6 separate regions of the Homo sapiens genome follow, and all the other regions are linked to region 5. Evidence: promoter capture Hi-C in 16 types of primary human blood cells and fetal thymus (Javierre and others, 2016). All regions are on one chromosome and are shown on one strand. The core of a region is centred on a gene start or on the middle of the fragment in contact, and the rest is flanking DNA. Distances in the headings are between cores, read along the strand shown. Region 1 overlaps BORCS5 (BLOC-1 related complex subunit 5). Region 2 overlaps BORCS5 (BLOC-1 related complex subunit 5). Region 3 overlaps BORCS5 (BLOC-1 related complex subunit 5). Region 4 has its middle 19 kb from the start of MIR613. Region 5 holds the start of CREBL2 (cAMP responsive element binding protein like 2). Region 6 overlaps BORCS5 (BLOC-1 related complex subunit 5).

The links. Contacts are between HindIII fragments. The CHiCAGO score rates a contact against its expected background, and 5 or more counts as called.
Region 1: a contact is called between a fragment that was not itself captured here and the fragment with the promoter of CREBL2 in region 5, in 13 of 17 cell types (M1 macrophages, total CD8 T cells, naive CD8 T cells and 10 more). The highest score is 11.0, in M1 macrophages.
Region 2: a contact is called between a fragment that was not itself captured here and the fragment with the promoter of CREBL2 in region 5, in 4 of 17 cell types (non-activated CD4 T cells, total CD8 T cells, naive CD8 T cells and 1 more). The highest score is 6.2, in non-activated CD4 T cells.
Region 3: a fragment that was not itself captured here is called in contact with the fragment with the promoter of CREBL2 in region 5 in 15 of 17 cell types (total CD4 T cells, non-activated CD4 T cells, naive CD8 T cells and 12 more); the score reaches 13.9 in total CD4 T cells.
Region 4: a fragment that was not itself captured here is called in contact with the fragment with the promoter of CREBL2 in region 5 in 2 of 17 cell types (total CD8 T cells and naive CD8 T cells); the score reaches 6.5 in total CD8 T cells.
Region 6: a contact is called between a fragment that was not itself captured here and the fragment with the promoter of CREBL2 in region 5, in 4 of 17 cell types (naive CD8 T cells, total CD8 T cells, activated CD4 T cells and 1 more). The highest score is 7.1, in naive CD8 T cells.

The regions. Positions count from the first base shown.
Region 1 is chr12:12,400,397-12,403,096 of GRCh38, forward strand. The region is part of intron 2 of BORCS5 (BLOC-1 related complex subunit 5); the gene reads left to right. Among named protein-coding and RNA genes, the nearest start is that of BORCS5, 45 kb to the left of the region's middle. The HindIII fragment of the contact is 4,273 bases long and covers 1-2,700 here.
Region 2 is chr12:12,454,118-12,456,817 of GRCh38, forward strand. All of the region lies in intron 3 of BORCS5 (BLOC-1 related complex subunit 5), which reads left to right. Among named protein-coding and RNA genes, the nearest start is that of BORCS5, 98 kb to the left of the region's middle. The HindIII fragment of the contact is 1,871 bases long and covers 505-2,375 here.
Region 3 is chr12:12,379,982-12,382,681 of GRCh38, forward strand. The region is part of intron 2 of BORCS5 (BLOC-1 related complex subunit 5); the gene reads left to right. Among named protein-coding and RNA genes, the nearest start is that of BORCS5, 24 kb to the left of the region's middle. RefSeq lists an enhancer at 1,214-1,508. The HindIII fragment of the contact is 7,704 bases long and covers 1-2,700 here.
Region 4 is chr12:12,744,015-12,746,714 of GRCh38, forward strand. It overlaps a transcript of APOLD1 not described here. Among named protein-coding and RNA genes, the nearest start is that of MIR613, 19 kb to the right of the region's middle. The HindIII fragment of the contact is 644 bases long and covers 964-1,607 here.
Region 5 is chr12:12,610,584-12,613,283 of GRCh38, forward strand. CREBL2 (cAMP responsive element binding protein like 2) reads left to right here and starts at 1,293. Exons shown (of 4, transcript NM_001310.4): 1 at 1,293-1,604. The coding sequence starts at 1,590. RefSeq lists enhancers at 662-1,413, 1,007-1,086, 1,137-1,186 and a silencer at 1,347-1,646. The HindIII fragment of the contact is 19,687 bases long and covers 1-2,700 here.
Region 6 is chr12:12,437,251-12,439,950 of GRCh38, forward strand. The region is part of intron 3 of BORCS5 (BLOC-1 related complex subunit 5); the gene reads left to right. Among named protein-coding and RNA genes, the nearest start is that of BORCS5, 82 kb to the left of the region's middle. RefSeq lists enhancers at 1,926-2,700, 2,405-2,699. The HindIII fragment of the contact is 3,287 bases long and covers 1-2,700 here.

The sequences.
Region 1 (2,700 bases), core at 74-2,573, 210 kb before region 5:
TGACCAAGGGTGGAGTGGTGGTAGCATAATAAACCCCATGGGAAGTGGAGCCATAGATTCCATCAGCTTTGCAGAGGGGCCTTAGACCCAGCAGGGTTTAAGAAACTGCTGTGGATAGGATGCCTTGTCCTCCATAGAGATTATCAGCTGCTACCTAGAATTTCTTTTTCATTTGCAGTATGTCAGCATACAGAAAAAAAAAAAAAAATAGCAAACACCTGTGTATTCATCAAATTTGTCATATTTTAATATTTTGCCATGTTTGCTTCAGATCTCTTTCCCTGCAGGAAGAAAAATACACGTTTCAAATAAACAACGCCCCCTCCCCATCCTTTATATCCTTCCCTGATATTCCCTCCTCCTCCCACTCCACAGGGAATTATTGATCTGATTTTGGCATTCATCATGCCCATGTGTTTTCTTCGTGGCTTGTCTTTTTCCTACATGTTTTTGTATATCTAAGCGGTGTAGAATATTCTTTCACTTGTTTTGACTTTATATAAGTTGTGTTCTATATGTATCCTTCAGCTACTTGTGTAACTTTCTTTTTTCTTTTCCTTATAATTTTGAGATTTATCCATGTTGATATATGTCTCACTTATTTTCACTGCTGCGTAGTATTCCATCAAATGAATATTTCACAGTGTATCCATTGACTTATTAGTGAATATTTGAGTTGTTTCCAGTTGTTTTACTATTAAACAGTTTTGCAGTGGACATCTTTGTACATGTCTCCTTTTGCACATGTATGAGAGTTTTCTCTAGGGTATGTAACTAGGAACAAATTGCTGTCTAGTAGGGCACATGTATTTTCAGCTTTACTAGATACAGTCAATTTACTCTTCAAAGTAGTTATGCTCTTTTATCGCCTTACTAGCTATATATTAGAGTTCCTGTTGTTCCACATCCTCAGTAAAACCGGATATTGTCCCAGCTGTTCCTTGCTTATTGATTAATTTAAAGACAACATCGTGCTTAGCAACCATCTCAAACATAGGGTCAGATGCAAACTTAATTTTCTTATACCATGCTTCTTCCTTTTAAAAGAATTGTTTTGATTTCTGAGTTACAAATCCAAGATAACTATAACATAGCTTTTTTGCCATATTTATTTTTTTAATAATTTTTTTTCTGATCACGAAATGAATATATGATTATTTTAAGGAACTTGGAAAACAAAATGACAAAAAAGAAAATTAAAAATTCTACCTAGACATAGCCATTGTTAATAACTTGCTATATTTTTCCTTCTAGTGTAGACCTATGTAAAGTATACATTTACTTTATAATTAAAATTTGTCATTTTATATCACAATTTTACTTAAAATTCTATTGTGGCATTTCCCATGTCATTGGATATTGTTTGAAAACATCATCTAAGGCCAGGAGCGGTGGTTCACGCCTGTAATCCCAGCACTTTGGGAGGCCAAGGCGGGCGGATCACGAGGTCAGAAGATCGAGACCATCCTGGTTAACATGGTGAAACCCTGTCTCTACTAAAAAAAAAAAATACAAAAAAATTAGCTGGGCTTGGTGGTGGGCGCCTGTAGTCCCAGCTACTCAGGAGGCTGAGGCAGGAGAATGGCGTGAACCCGGGAGGCGGAGCTTGCAGTGAGCCAAGATGGCGCCACTGCACTTCAGCCTGGGCTACAGAGCGAGACTCCGTCTCAAAAAAAAAAAAAAAAAAAGTGTAAACAGCTGGATAACATTTCTTTTTGTAAATATAAATATAGTTTAATCATTCTCCCATTGGAGGACATTTTGGGTATTAAAATGATACTGGAGTACAAAATCTTGGTGCATAAATTTCATCTGAGTTTGTTTCTTTGGGATAGATTTCTAGAAGCCAGTAACTATTCATGGAATTAGATTGGATAGCTGATAAAAGCAGGGCATCAAGGGAGAAAAAAGAGTTGAGAGAGCAAAACAACATGCTTAAGGATCATGAGATTCGTGAATTCAGCTTCTGTCATATTTGAATTGAGTGGCAAATTTGTCTCTTACCTGAATTTGGAGACCCTTCTCTAATTAGGGATGATTATTAGAGGGAAATTCTGCCCTACTGTGGACACCAGAGAGTTGGTTGTGTGTTGTAGTGTTCAAGAGTTTTATCCAATATTCTGCTTCCTGCAGAGTTCCTGAATTGAGGGTCTTTTGTGGAATATCTCATTGAAGTAGACTTTTAACCTTGACTTGCTCAACATCTGATCAGAAGCAGCTCGTTGTCATATAAGGAAATCTGCTCTGTTATGGAACATCTTTGAGTAGTTGAGTTCCCCTTTTTCCCATAAGTCCAAATTTGATTCCCTGTCACCTTCAATTGTTCTTTAACTTGTTTTTAAACAAAAGTCTCCCTAAAAATAATTCCAGAAGTATTTGAACTTTATTTCTCTATTAGCTTCTACTGTAATTAACATGAAAACAAACATGTTTTAAAGTCTTTGTTTCCTTCTAAGGTATAATTTAGCTTTATCACGTCTTCATAGTGAAAGTTGTATACGTGAACGTTGGTAGGATAGAAAAACTTTCCACATAGTTTTATACTTGGTGCCCAGAAAACTTCCAAAGTGTTTAGGTACTACTCATTATTATTTCTTAGAAATTGAATAGAAGCAGTGGCTTGAGTATACACAGTCCCACTTTTTCGTTAATAATAACCACATTTCCCTTTTTTTTTTTGCACAAAAGTGTTACATGTAT
Region 2 (2,700 bases), core at 190-2,689, 160 kb before region 5:
ATTATGAATAATGCTGCTATAAACATTTGTGTACAAGGTTTTGGGTGAACATATAATTTACTTCTCTTGGGAATACATGTGAAGTGAAATTGCTGGCTGTATAGTAACTTTATGTTTAACTTTTTGAGAAACGGCCAAACTGCTCTTCAAAATGACTGTCCCATTTTACATGCTTACCAGCAATGCACAGGGGTTCCAGTTTCTTCACACCCTCACTAACATTTGTCATTGTCTGCCTTTTAATTTGAGCCATCCCAGTGGGTGTGAAGTTGTATTCTTTCTGCTTTTGATTGCACTTTTCTAATGTCCAGTGATGTTGAACATCTTTTCCTGTGTTTACTGGCCATTTGTATATCTTCTTTGGATAAATGGCTTCAGTTATAATTCCAAGGCCAGATTTTGCCCTAGGGACAGTACTGATTTATATAGTTAGGCTGACTGCTTCCTAATTGGGAGAATTGGTAGTTCTGAATTTCAGAAACATCTGAGAAGGGTGGATATTGAAGCTTTATATAAAATATGTAGCAGTTTTCTTTTAATGTGATTATGATTTGGGAACTTTTTAGTTTTACTACCATGAAAAACAGAACTTCCAAGCATACTTTGCCATTCATTGTTAGAATAATATAAACATACATGTTTATAGCAGTGTTCTGTTTTCAGATCATCCTACATATATTATCTCATTATAACCATTACAACACTGCCGTGAGGTAGGATGAATATTAGCCATTATTATCCCCACTTTTAAAAAGTAGAAGCTGAGAGTCAGCTTGTGATTTGCCCAAGTTCACCAACTAGTAGAATTTAAATTCAGGCCTTCTGACTTACTTTGTTAATGGTAATGAATTATTAGTGATGTCAGGGATTTGAAGGGTGAGCTTACATTGCTAAAAATCAGCAATATGCCCATCTTCAAATAACAGATTGTTACTGACTTCAGAATGTATTATTTGAATAGCTGTAAAACAGGATGAATTGTTACTTTTCCATTTAGCCTCTTTAGCTACAAAGTACTTACAATAAAAGAGCAGAATTACATATCACTGCCTGCTCATTACATTTTGAACCCAGAAGGAAATCCACCCAAAGAAAGAACAAAGCTGGGAATGGATTTAGAACCCTAAAAAGAGGCAGCCTTTGGTTAGCTGACCTTGAACCATCCATCATGCCTCCTCCTCCCAGCCTCCATATTCCTAAACTGACATCCTTGGGGAACAGGAATTTAAATGTAGAACGAGTGCAGAGAAAGTGAGATATCTATTGAGATCAAATAAAAATTGACCTTGAGACTAACATTAACTGACAGACACCACATTAAAAGCTAAACATTACCTTTAAAGGGTGGGAAAGATGAGTGACTTTTTAAATGCCGTCTTGAGCTGGGCACAGTGGCTTACGTCTGTAATCCCAGTACTTTGGAAGGACGAGGAGGGCAGATCACCTGAGGTTAGGAGTTCGAGACCACCTGGCCTACATGGTGAAACGCTGTCTCTACTAAAAATATAAAAATTAGCCAGGCGTGGTGGCACACACCTGTAATCCCAGCTACTTGGGAGGCTGAGGCAGGAGAATTGCTTCAACCCAGGAGGTGGAGGTTGCAATGAGCTGAGATTGTGGCACTGCACTGCAGCATGGGCAACAGAGTGAGACTCGGTCTTAAAAAAAAAAAAAAAAGCAGTCTTGATTAAGTCCATATGCAGTCTTTTTTGTTTTTAACATTTCTTTTAAACTTAAGTATTTTGGGGATAGAAAAATAAGTCTATTGATCATATGGATGTGAATTTTGTTAACTGTGAAACACAGCTTACCTACTCATTTTTCTTTTGACCATGAGGGTTATTAAATTTGCTTTTGATCATTTCATGCATATCTACATCTTAAGTTTTTAGAATTTAAAAGTTGTACACTATCTTTATGAAGTTCTTACTGTTATGTTGCACATCTTTTCTAACTTAAAATAAGCCCTTGTAGTATGTCACTAATTTGGAAAATTTACCTTTACTTTGAAAAGAACTACATCAAGCATAGTGAGGCCAGGTGTGGTAGATCATGCCTGTAATCCCAACACTTTGGGAGGCTGAGCGGGTGGATGGCTTGGGCCAGGAGTTTGGAGATCAGCCAGGGCATCATCTTGAGACCCCATCTCCACAAAAAATAAAAATTAGCCAGGCATGGTGGCATGTGCCTGTAGTCTCAGCTACTCAGGAAGCTGAGATGGGAGGATTGCTCGGACCCAGGAGTTCAAGGCTCCCGTGAGCTATGATCAGGCCACTGTACTCCAGCCTGGGCAACAGAGCGAGACCCTGTCTCCAAATAACAAACCACAGTGACATCTTTCATAGGATGACCCATCTGCCTCAAACCAGCATCAAAGCTTATTTTATGAGGAAAATTTATATAACAAAAGTTTTTGAAGCACCGTACTCTCTTGTTGGAGAGGATATCATTTATTAAAGCTTTTGGTTTTGCTTTCAAAATATTTTTTGAAAAATATACATGTACGCATGTACGCCTATGTATTTTTATTTTTACCATATTGGATAGCATCAAACAGTGGTAATAGTTATTCTCATGGCTAAACATATAGATTAAAAACACATGGAAGGACTTGTAGGTAAATAATGATTTCAGTTATTACGTAGTGCGAAATGATTCTATCAGGAAACTGTGGGATGAGTAATGTGACTCTGCTGTAAG
Region 3 (2,700 bases), core at 152-2,651, 230 kb before region 5:
GGGGAATTCATTGGCCTGATTTCAATATTATTGTATTTCAGGGAGTAGGTCCAAGGAGAGGGTGATAGCCGGGGGAATGATTGGTCCGTGAAGCAGTCAGAGCACATGCAACACTTCTCAGTTTAAGTTTCCTGTTTTCTATGGGTGTGGTTTGTGGTGCCCAAAACAATTACAATAGTGACATCAAAGATCACTGATCACAGATCACCATGACAGATATCATAATAATGGAAGTTTGAAATATTGCAAGAATTACCAAAATGTGACAGACATGAAGTAAGCACCCTGCCACAAATCTTCAATTTGTAAAAAAAAACACAGTATCTGTGAAGCACAATTTAAAAAAAATTTGAAGTGGAATAGAATGAGGTGTGCCTATATATGGAAGATGGCTTGATCTAATCAGAGATAAAAAGAGATGAATGAGGACCATATCAAAATTATTTCCAGTTTGCAGTTAATTCTGCTCCCAGTCTCCAGTCCTAGGCAACCACAGGCCAGCTTTTCTGGACACTTCATCTAAATGGAATCATACAATACATACTCTTTTGAGTCTGACTTCCAGTTTTTGCCTGTTATGAATAATGCTGCTATGAACCTTTGTGACCATGTGTTCATGTGAATGTGTTTTTATTTCTTTTGGGTGGATTCTTAGGAACGGAATTGGTAGGTTGTATGGTAACTTTGTGTTTACTTTTACGAAACTGCCAAACTTTTTTCAAAATTACCATTTTACATTCCTTCCAGCAATGTATGAGAATTCAGTATTCTCTTTATTTCTGATTATAGCCATCAGAGTGGTTGTGTAGTGGTATCTCATTATGGTTTACATTTACATTTCTCTAATGATGTTGAGATTATTTTTGTGTGCTTGAAATACCTGTTCAAATCTCTTATCCATTTTTAAATTGGGTTTTTAACTTATATTGTATTATAACAAGTTCTTTATTCTGGATACAATCTCTTAATCAGATATATGATTTGCAGTATTTTCTCCCAGACTGTGACTTTCTTTTCATTTTTTGGGGGATTTTTTTTTTTTTTTTTTGAGACCGAGTCTCACTCTGTCGCCCAGGCTGGAGTGCACTGGCGCGATCTCAGCTCACTGCAAACTCCACCTCCTGGGTTCAAGCAGTTCTCCTGCCTTAGCCTCCCAGGTAGCTGGGATTACGGGTGCCTGGCTCATTTTTGTGTTTTTAGTAGAGACAGGCTTTCACCATGTTGGCCAGGCTGGTCTGGAACTTCTGACCTGGCTGATATTTTTTGAAGTACAACTTTTTTAATCTTGATGAAGTTCAGTGTATCAATATTTTTAATAAAGATTTCTCCTAGAAGTTTTATAGTTTTAGTGATTGCATTTAGGCCTGTGATCCTTTTTGGATTACTTTGTGTGTGTTGTGTAAAGGTCTAAGTTCATTTTGCTTTGTTTGTTTGCTTGTGGTATCCAGTTGACCCTGTACCATATGTTGAAAAGATTGTGTTTTCCCTTATTGAATTATCTCAGCACCTTTAAAAAATGACCATAAATGTAAGGGTTTATTTCTGGACTCTTAGGTCTGTTCCATTGATCTGTCCCATTTTTAATTTCGTGGATTGTACTTTGGTGTTGTATCTAAAAAGTCATCACCAAATCCATGCTTACCTAGATTTTCTCTTGTATTACTGCTTAGGACTTTCATAGTTTTGCATTTTACATTTAGGTCTGCGATCCATTTTGACTTAATTTTTGTGAAAGGTATAAACCATATGTGCTTTTAAAGACTATATAGTCTGCAGTCATTGGGTAGAGAGTTTTATATATGTCAGTTATGTTGGTTGATAGTGTTTTTTGAGTTTTGTATATTCTTACTGATTTTGTCTTTAGTTTTATCAATTGAGAGTGAGGTACTGAATTATTAACCTGTTTTGTTGAATTGTGTATTTTTCCTTTTGATTCTGTCAGTTTTTCCTTCATTTGTTTTGAGGATATGTTGCTGGTGTGGATACATTTAGAATTATTATATCTTCATGATGTAACAACTTTCATCATTATGAAACACCGTTCTCTAATATTACTCTCTGTCTTTATTTCTATTTTATCTAATATTAATAGAGCCATTTGTGTTAGTCCACTTTGAGTTGCTATAAAGGAATACCCGAGGCTGGGTAATTTATAAAGAAGAGAGGTTTATTTGGCTCACAGTTCTGCAAGCTGTATAAGAAGTGTGGCACCAGCATCTGCTTCTGGTAAGGACCTCAGAAAACTTTCAATCATGGAGGAAGGTGAAGGAGGAGCAGGCATGTCACATGGTAAGAGAGGGAGACAGAGGTGGGGGAGGTGCCACACTCCTTTAAACAACCAGTTCTCCCATAAACTAATAGAGGGAGACTTGCTCGGTACTACAGGGAGGCACCAAGCCATTCTTGAGGGATCTGCTCTTATGACTCATACATCTCCCACTAGACCCCACCTCCAACATTAGGGGCCACATTTTAACATGAGATTTGGAGGGGACAAGTATCCAAATGATATCACTATTCTGTCTTTCTTATGGTTCTATGATGGTATATATCTTTTTTTTTTTTTTTTTTGAGACAAAGTCTTGCTCGACAGGCTGCTGAAGTGCAGTGGCGCGATCTCAGTTTCCTGCAACCTCTGCCTCCTGGGTTCAAGTGATTTTCCTGCCTCAGCCTCCCAAGTAGCTGGGATTACAGGCGCGT
Region 4 (2,700 bases), core at 36-2,535, 130 kb after region 5:
AAGATATTAAATTGATGATGGCTGGGCGTGGTGGCTCATGCCTGTAATCCCAACACTTTGGGAGGCTGAGGCTGGTGGATCACTTGAGGTCAGGAGTTTGAGACCAGCCTGGGGAACATAGCAAGACTGCGTTTCTACTAATAAAAAATTAGCAAGGAACGGTGTGCACCTGTAGTCCCAGCTACTCGGGAGGCTGAGGCAGGAGGATCACTTGAGCCTAGGAGATCAAGGCTGCAGTGAGCTATGATGGCACCACTGTACTCCAGCCTGGGCAATAGAGCCAGACCCTGCTTAAAAAAAAAAAAAAAAAATGGCTGGCTGTGGTGGCTCAGGTCTGTAATCCCAGCACTGTGGGCGGCTGAGGTGGGCAGATCACCTGAGGTCAGGAGTTCGAGACCAGCCTGGCTAACATGGTGAAACCCCATCTCTACTAAAATTACAAAAATTAACTGGGCCTGGTGGTGCACACCTGTAATCCCAGCTACTCAGGAGGCTGAGGCAGGAGAATCGCTTGAACCTGGGAGGCGGAGGTTGCAGTGAACAGAGATCGCACCACTGCACTCCATATCAAAAAACAAAGAACTGCTTGGTTTCTGATTTCTCAGCTCTCAACTCTAGGCAGGTGATTTATTTGTCCACTTAAGAGATGGGAATTGGACACTGCCGCTGGGATCAGTTCTGATCCTGACTATAAATTTCCGGGGTGCTCTGCCTTAGAACTTGGTTTATTGCCTATTAAGCTGCTTTCCTGTTGCCTGTGCTCAGTGTCTGTCTGGCTCCTGGCCTCCTCTTGCCAGGTGATTTGGCCTCATTCTGAACCTGTTTTATGTAGAGTGTCTGTCTGCCCGACTTCATGGGGCAGATCACAGAACAAGATCCCTGTGCCACGATCTGCTTTCCCTTCACCAAATATCACTATGAACTTGTGCCTACCTGGATCCCATACTTGCTTCACCCTGACAAAGCTTTTTCTTCTCTCTACTTCTGGCCTGCTTTGAATTTATTGTTTTATGCCTGTGTGTTAGAGGGAAAAATGTATTAAAATAATGTACTGGCAATACCTCCCTTCCTGTCTAAAAAAAGTGAATGCTTTGTGTACTCATCTCCCTAGAGGGCCTTTGTTGAATTAAGCAGGGTGATTGGCTGTGAGGAGAATTAAAAGGCAGAGAGAAGACCAAATTGCTCTACCCAACACAAAATGAGGAGATATTTGAAAGAGAATTTTACAAGGAGAAGACTGAAGAAGGCCGGGCGAGGTGGCACACGCCTGTAATCCCAGTACTTTGGGAAGTTGAGGCGGGTGGATCACCTGAGGTCAGGAGTTCGTGACCAGCCTGGCCACTAAACTCTACTAAAAATACAAAAACTAGCTGGGCCTGGTGGCAGGTGCTTGTAATCCTAGCTACTCTGGAGGCTGAGGCTGGAGAATCGGTTGAATCAGGGAGGTGGAAGTTGCGGTGGGCCAATATCGTGCCACTGCGCTCCAGCCTATGCAATAGAGCGAGACTGTCTCAGAAAAGAAAAGACTGAAGAGAAGAGGAAGGAGACATAAGTGAGCTGTACAATTTTTGAGCAAAGAAAGAAACCCAAAGAATATTTTAATGGAAAGCTTCCTATATTGCGTGTAGTGTAACATTCTCTTTGCCTCTCTAAGCATCCAGTACACGTTGAATTTGTGGTAGATTAGGTGTATTAAGTGCTGAGATTGGCCTCAAGGCAAGGGCAGGATGACTCAGAATAGCACAAATAGTTTCAGGTGGGAAGGGGGAGGAAAAAGGGAAGCAAAAGGCAAGGAAAATGCCAAGTGGTCTTGCCTACAGCAGATCTTTCAGCCCGCATGCTTGCTCTGTACTTGGAATTCTCTAGAAAGGTTGCAAGAAGAAGCTGCACTCCAGAGTAGTCTGAGAAAGGGATCAGGAAGAGGGCATTTATCTGCCAGCTCCCTCCTGTCTCCATTTTTTGTGGCTGAGGTTCACACTACTTAGCAGAGCTAAATCCCCTGAATGCCATGTGGTGTCATCTGGCAGCTCCGTGATCACTCAGGAAATTAATTTTACGCCTTGCAGTGTGGCTATTTCATCCGAGTCTGGAAGTGAGGAGTGACCAAGAGAGAACAAAAGGAAGGGTGGTGGGAATCCAAGAAGGCTTAAAACGTATGTCTCTGTAGTTGAGAAAAGGTTTTACTTAAATCCTGTTCCAGGCCGGGTGCAGTGGCTCACGCCTGTAATCCCAGCACTTCGGGAAGCCGAGGCGGGTGGGTCACCTGAGGTCAGGAGTTCGAGACCAACCTGGCCAACATGGTGAAACCCTGTCTCTACATAAAATACAAACATTAGCTGCGTGTGGTGGCAGATGCCTGTAATCCCAGCTACTCAGGAGGCTGAGGCAGGAGAATCGCTTGAACCTGGGAGACGGAGGTTGCAGTGAGCCGAGATCGCACCACTGCACTCCAGCCTGGGCAACAAGAGTGAAACTCCATCTCAAATAAATAAATAAATAAATACATAAATACATACATACATATTGCTCCAAATGGTGAACATGTGCATGACTACGTGTATGAACTCTGATGTCTTCATAAAGAATTTTAAAAAACTATTGGAAAACATGGGAAAACATGCTCTAATTTTTTTTAAATTTCATATTCAGGGAGGTACATGCACAGGTTGTACATGGGTATATTGCATGATGCTGAGGCTT
Region 5 (2,700 bases), core at 43-2,542:
TTTTCAAGGTTCAGACATATTGAAGTGTGTATATCCCTTCATTTTTTTTCATTGCTGAATAATATTTCTTTCCTTTTTTTTTGAGACAGAGTCTTGCTCTGTTGCCCAGGCTGGAGTGCCGTGATCACAGCTCACTTCAGCCTCCAACTCCAGGGCTCAAACGATCCTCCCACCTGGGCCTCCCGAGTGGCTAGGACTACAAGCACCACCACCACACCCAAGTAATTTTTAAATTTTTTGTAACACACCCAACTAATTTTTAATTTTTTTTGTAGAGACTGCATCTTACTATATGGGTCTTCTTCCTTCTTCTTTCTTCTTCCTTCTTCTCCTTCTTCTTCCTTCATCGTTCTTCTTCCTTCTTTCATTCTTCTTCTTCTTTTTTTTTTTTTTAAATACAGTGTCTGGCTCTGTCGCCCAGGCTGGAGTGCAGTGGTACAATCTTGGCTTATTGCAGCCTCTGCCTCCCAGGCCCAAGTGATCCTCTCATGTCAGCCTCCCCAGTAACTGGGATTACAGGCATGTGCCACCACACTCGACTAATTTTTGTATTTTTTTGTAGAGACAGGTTTTGCTATGTTGCCCAGGCTGGTCTCGAACTCTTGGGCTAAAGCAATCCTCCCGCCTCGGCCTCCCAACGTGCTGGGATTACAGGCGTGACCCACCACCCCTGGCCAGTATTTCTTAATTTGTATAGTCCACACTGGTTTATCCATTCATCCAGTAAAGGACATTTGCGTTGTTTCCACTTTTTGACTATTATGAATAATGCTGCTAGGAAAGAACATTTATATACAAGTTTTTGTGTAGTCACTCGTTTTAATTTCTCTTGGGTATGGGAGTGGCCAATATTCTGAAGAACTGCCAAATTTCTTCCCAAAGTAGCTGCACTATTTTACATACTTAGTTTTTGTTTTTCGTTTTTTTTTAAATAAAGAACCTTTAGGGTTTCCTCAGCGTCCCAGAGGAGGGCCTGCTTCCGGCACCCCGCCTTCAGGGCTGCCTCCGCAGAGCACCAAACTCCCGTCCCCGCCATTCCAGGCCCTGGCACTTAGGAGCCAAAACCTCAGGTCAGGCGCACTTTGGGCCTCCAGCCCAGCCCCGCCTCCTCAGCGCTAGCTAGTAGGCAAAAGGAAAACAGCTGCCCCTTAATGAGGCTATGTGGACATCGTAGTTTTTTTTCCAGTCAGTAGCGCAGAGACTGTGATAAGAAAAATCACAATTCCCAGAATGCCGCGGTGCTACGGCAGCCGAAGGGGCCATTCCGTGTGCAGCGCTCCCGCCCACCCTCCGGTCTCGGCGGCTCTCCAGAGCGTCTGTAAACACCCAGAGACTGTCATGGAGGGGGAGGAGGAGGCGGCGGCGGCGAAGGGAGGCGTTTGGGGCCGCCTCCAGGGTCCGCTCTGCCATTCCTGAACTGGTCCCTCGTCCCCGTGACTCTGGCATCAGGGAAGCGAACTGTTAGGCGAGAGGAGGAGGCAGCCAGAACCATATCCCCTTCTTCCTCGGGGCGGGGGCCGGGCCAGGCCGGCTGAGCCGGGGGAGGGCTCCGGGAGGGAGTGCCTGGCCAGGCCGGCCTGTCTGCCGCGATGGATGACAGTAAGGTAAGTCTTGTGGTTTGCACGCGCCGCCGCCTTCTTGTCGCTCAATGCTAGTCCCGCGGCTGAACCTCCGCTATGTAGTCCACGCCAACACCCAAGAGACACCTGCCTAAAACATCCCTGCGCCTCTCCAGTCCACTGCCCGATGGTACCCAGCCAGGAAATCAGGGAACACCGGGGCTGCGTTTTTCCAGGAAGGGCCCTCTCTGGAAATTTTTCACTCCCAGGGCGTTTGCTAGCTTTCCAGGTAGTGCAACCCCTAGTCCTTAACTTGCCTGTCGAGATAAGAAACTACTGTACTTTTTCTTCTTGCACTTTTTTGCTGCCTCCTCTCTCCAGTTTGGAGACTTTAGTGCACGCTGAACCAGCCTTATTCCCCTTGACGATTCCCCTTCTCTCAGGCTCCCTTACTCAATGCCCCATTCATATAATCAGTTCACTCCCCCTCTGAGCTATTTCCTGTGGTTGGTTGGAACACCGCTAAGCTCCTGTTGCTATTTGGCCAGTGTGGAGTTTAACCTCCACTAGAAAGCCTTCTCTAAAAAAATACTGATTTTCCTCTTGTTAACTTTAATAGCCCATCACCATCCAATTTCCCTGTCCAAATCACTTACTTTATGATTATAAAATAATAGATAATGTTCATTATTGGTTAATCCAAATAGTTTATCTATGTATAGCCTTTTTGTCTTTATTTATTAATTGAGACGGAGTTTCGCTCTTGTCGCCCAGGCTGGAGTGCAATGGCGCGATCTCGGCTCACCACAACCTCCGCCTCCCGGGTTCAAGCGATTCTCCTGCCTCAGCCTCCCGAGCAGCTGGGATTACAGGCATGCACCACCATGCCCGGCTAATTTTGTATTTTTGGTAGAGATGGGGTTTCTCCATGTTGGTCAGGCTGGTCTCGAACTCCCAATCTTAGGTGTCCGCTCGCCTCGGCCTCCCAAAGTGCTGGGATTACAGGCGTGAGCCACCGCGCCTGGCCGCCTTTCTCTCTTTACATCTACCCACATTAGTGTTGTTTAGTTTTATTTCCTGAAGATAGGGATGGTCAAAGATTTGTTTATTGATGTTTCAGGTTGTTTTGGATTTGGACTTT
Region 6 (2,700 bases), core at 92-2,591, 170 kb before region 5:
GTTCCCCTACACAAGCTCTCTTGCCTGCCGCCATGTAAGATGTGACTTTGCTCCTCATTCACTTTTAGCTGTGATTGTGATGCCTCCCCAGCCATGTGGAACTGTGAGTCAACTAAACCTCTTTCCTTTATAAATTACCCAGTCTTGGATATGTCTTTATTAGCAATGTGAGAACAGACTAATACATAAGTTTACCAAATGATACAATGCCACCCTCTATTACCCAGGATTTGGGAACCAGTGGTCTTAAGCACTATTTCTAAAATAAGTTCTACAAAACTAGTCCCATATAAAGAGGTCAAACGATTTGCATATTCCCTCACCACCCCTTGGAAAGTCACAAAGCGTATTATCTCACTTAAAGTTCTTAGGAGTCTCACAATAAAGAAAGCCAGACTTTTGAAACTTAGTTGACCTCAGAACACTTATCTTAGGTAACATTTATTAATGTCCCATAAAGTAGTGATTTTAGAACATTCTTTGGGAAATGCTATTGTAGACATAAGACTTTACCTTTTTAATTTTTTTAGAAACAGAGTCTTATGCTGTCACCGAGGCTGGAGTTTAGTGATAACATTCATAGCTCGTTGCAACCTCTAACTGCTGGGCAGAAGCGATTCTCCAACCTCAGCTTCCTGAGTAGCTTAGGACTACAGGTGTATGCCATCACGCCTGGCTATGTTGCCTAGGATGTTTTCAAACTCCTCAGCTCAAGCGATCCTCCCGCCTCTGCCTCCCAAAGCACTGGGATTACAGGTGTGAGCCACTGCCCCTAGCCAGACTCTACCATTTTTTACAGTTGTGCTAGAAGTTAATTAACTATGACATTAACTCTCAGAGAGGAGATCTTAGAATTATAATAAATTGGCTTTTTGATGCTTATTCTTTTTAAAAAGTCCTTTAAGTTCAAGACCAGCCTGGCCAACATGGTGAAACTCCATCTCTACTAAAAATACAAAAATTAGCCAGGTGTGATGGTGCATGCCTGTAGTCCCAGCTCCTCGGGAGGCTGAGGCACAAGAATCGCTTGAACCTGGGAGGTGGAGGTTACAGTGAGCCCAGATCATGTCACTGCACTCCAACCAGGGCGACAGAGCCAGATTTCATCTCAAAAAAAAAAAAAAAAAAAACGAAAAACAACAACAAAAACCTCTAATCCATATCTGTTGTTTTGCAGTTTAGTAAAGTGTGGTACGGAGAGATTAACTGACTAGCTCTATATCAGAGAGCTGGGGAAAGTGTTTTGTAGCTGGAAGTACCAGACAGAGCTTCTCATTATAGCACATTTTCAAGACTTCAGAGCAGTGTTTGTCAGCCCTGGTTACATGTTAAAATTACTCGGAAGTTTTTTCCTCCAATATATATGATGGGAAATTTTACACATATACTGAAGAAGACAGGGTAAAAGAAGGCGGAGTAACACAGTGAACCTTAATGTACTCATTACCAGCCACTACAATCATCAGCTTGCAAATACTCCTGTTTTATCCATATCCCCACTCCCTGCCACCCTCAACTGTATATTTTATAGTAAATCCCCAGACATTATTTCATTCATAAATATTTAAGTATATATCTTTAAAAGTGAAGGATTCTTTTAAAAAATAACTTTTAAATTTGAATTAATTTTAGACTTGGAGGAAAGTCACAGAAATAATTTGAGAGTACCTATATACCCTGCCCCATGCAGCTTCCCCTAAAGTTAACACTTTACATAACCTTCGTACAATGATCAAAACCAGGAAATTAGCTTGGTACAATACTAGCAATTAAATGGAGGCCTTATTTTGAATTTTACCAGTAATTCCACGAATGAATGACTGAGTCGTTTTGAAAGATGTAGTTATAATGCTGTTATACCTAAAATATTTAACAATGATACCTTAATTCATTCAGCATAGCTGAGGTGCTGTTAAGAAAATTCTGATGTCTGGGTCTCACTCCGAACCGATTAGATCAAAATCTTTGAAGGGTGATAGGGTTAGGGCGGTGGGATGTTGGGTATTGGTATTTATGAAGGTGCTCTAGGTGATTCTAGTATGTAACCAGGGGAGAACCAGTGTTTTGGAGCATTCATTTAAAAATAAACTGACTTTGGCGGGCGACATGGCTCATGCCTGTAATCCCAGCACTTTCGGAGGCCAAGGCAGGTGGATTGTTTGAGCCCAGGAGTTCAAGACCAGCCTGGGCAACATGGTGAAACCCCATCTCTACAAAAAAGACCAAGAAAAAAAACAAACAGGCATGGTGGTGCGTGCCTGTAGTCCCAGCTACTTGGGAGGTGAGAAGATGGTTTGAGCTCAGGAGGCAGAGGTTGCGGTGAGCCGAGATCTCCACTCCAGTCTGGGCTACAGAGCAAGACCCTGTCTCAAAAAATAAAATAAACAGTTTAAAATTCTGTTTGAAGAACTTTGGGATTCACTTTGAATAGTCAGTAATTACCCAGGATTATTGCAAAACAGAGACCAGCACTCACAGTACTGAGCAATACCTCAGCAGCGTGCTCGGGCAGAGGAGGTGAGTGCAGTTTTGGGGCTTTCATTGGTGGCGTAATGTGTCCGTCTTATCTCTGTTGGTGAGTGTTAGCAAACTCCTGAATCATATCCGTCCGTCTATGTTCACCTCAGACCTAAGGGTTGAAATTAGTCACTTCCAAATGAGTAAAGCAGAGGATGTCATTTTGATCAAACACCAACTCTC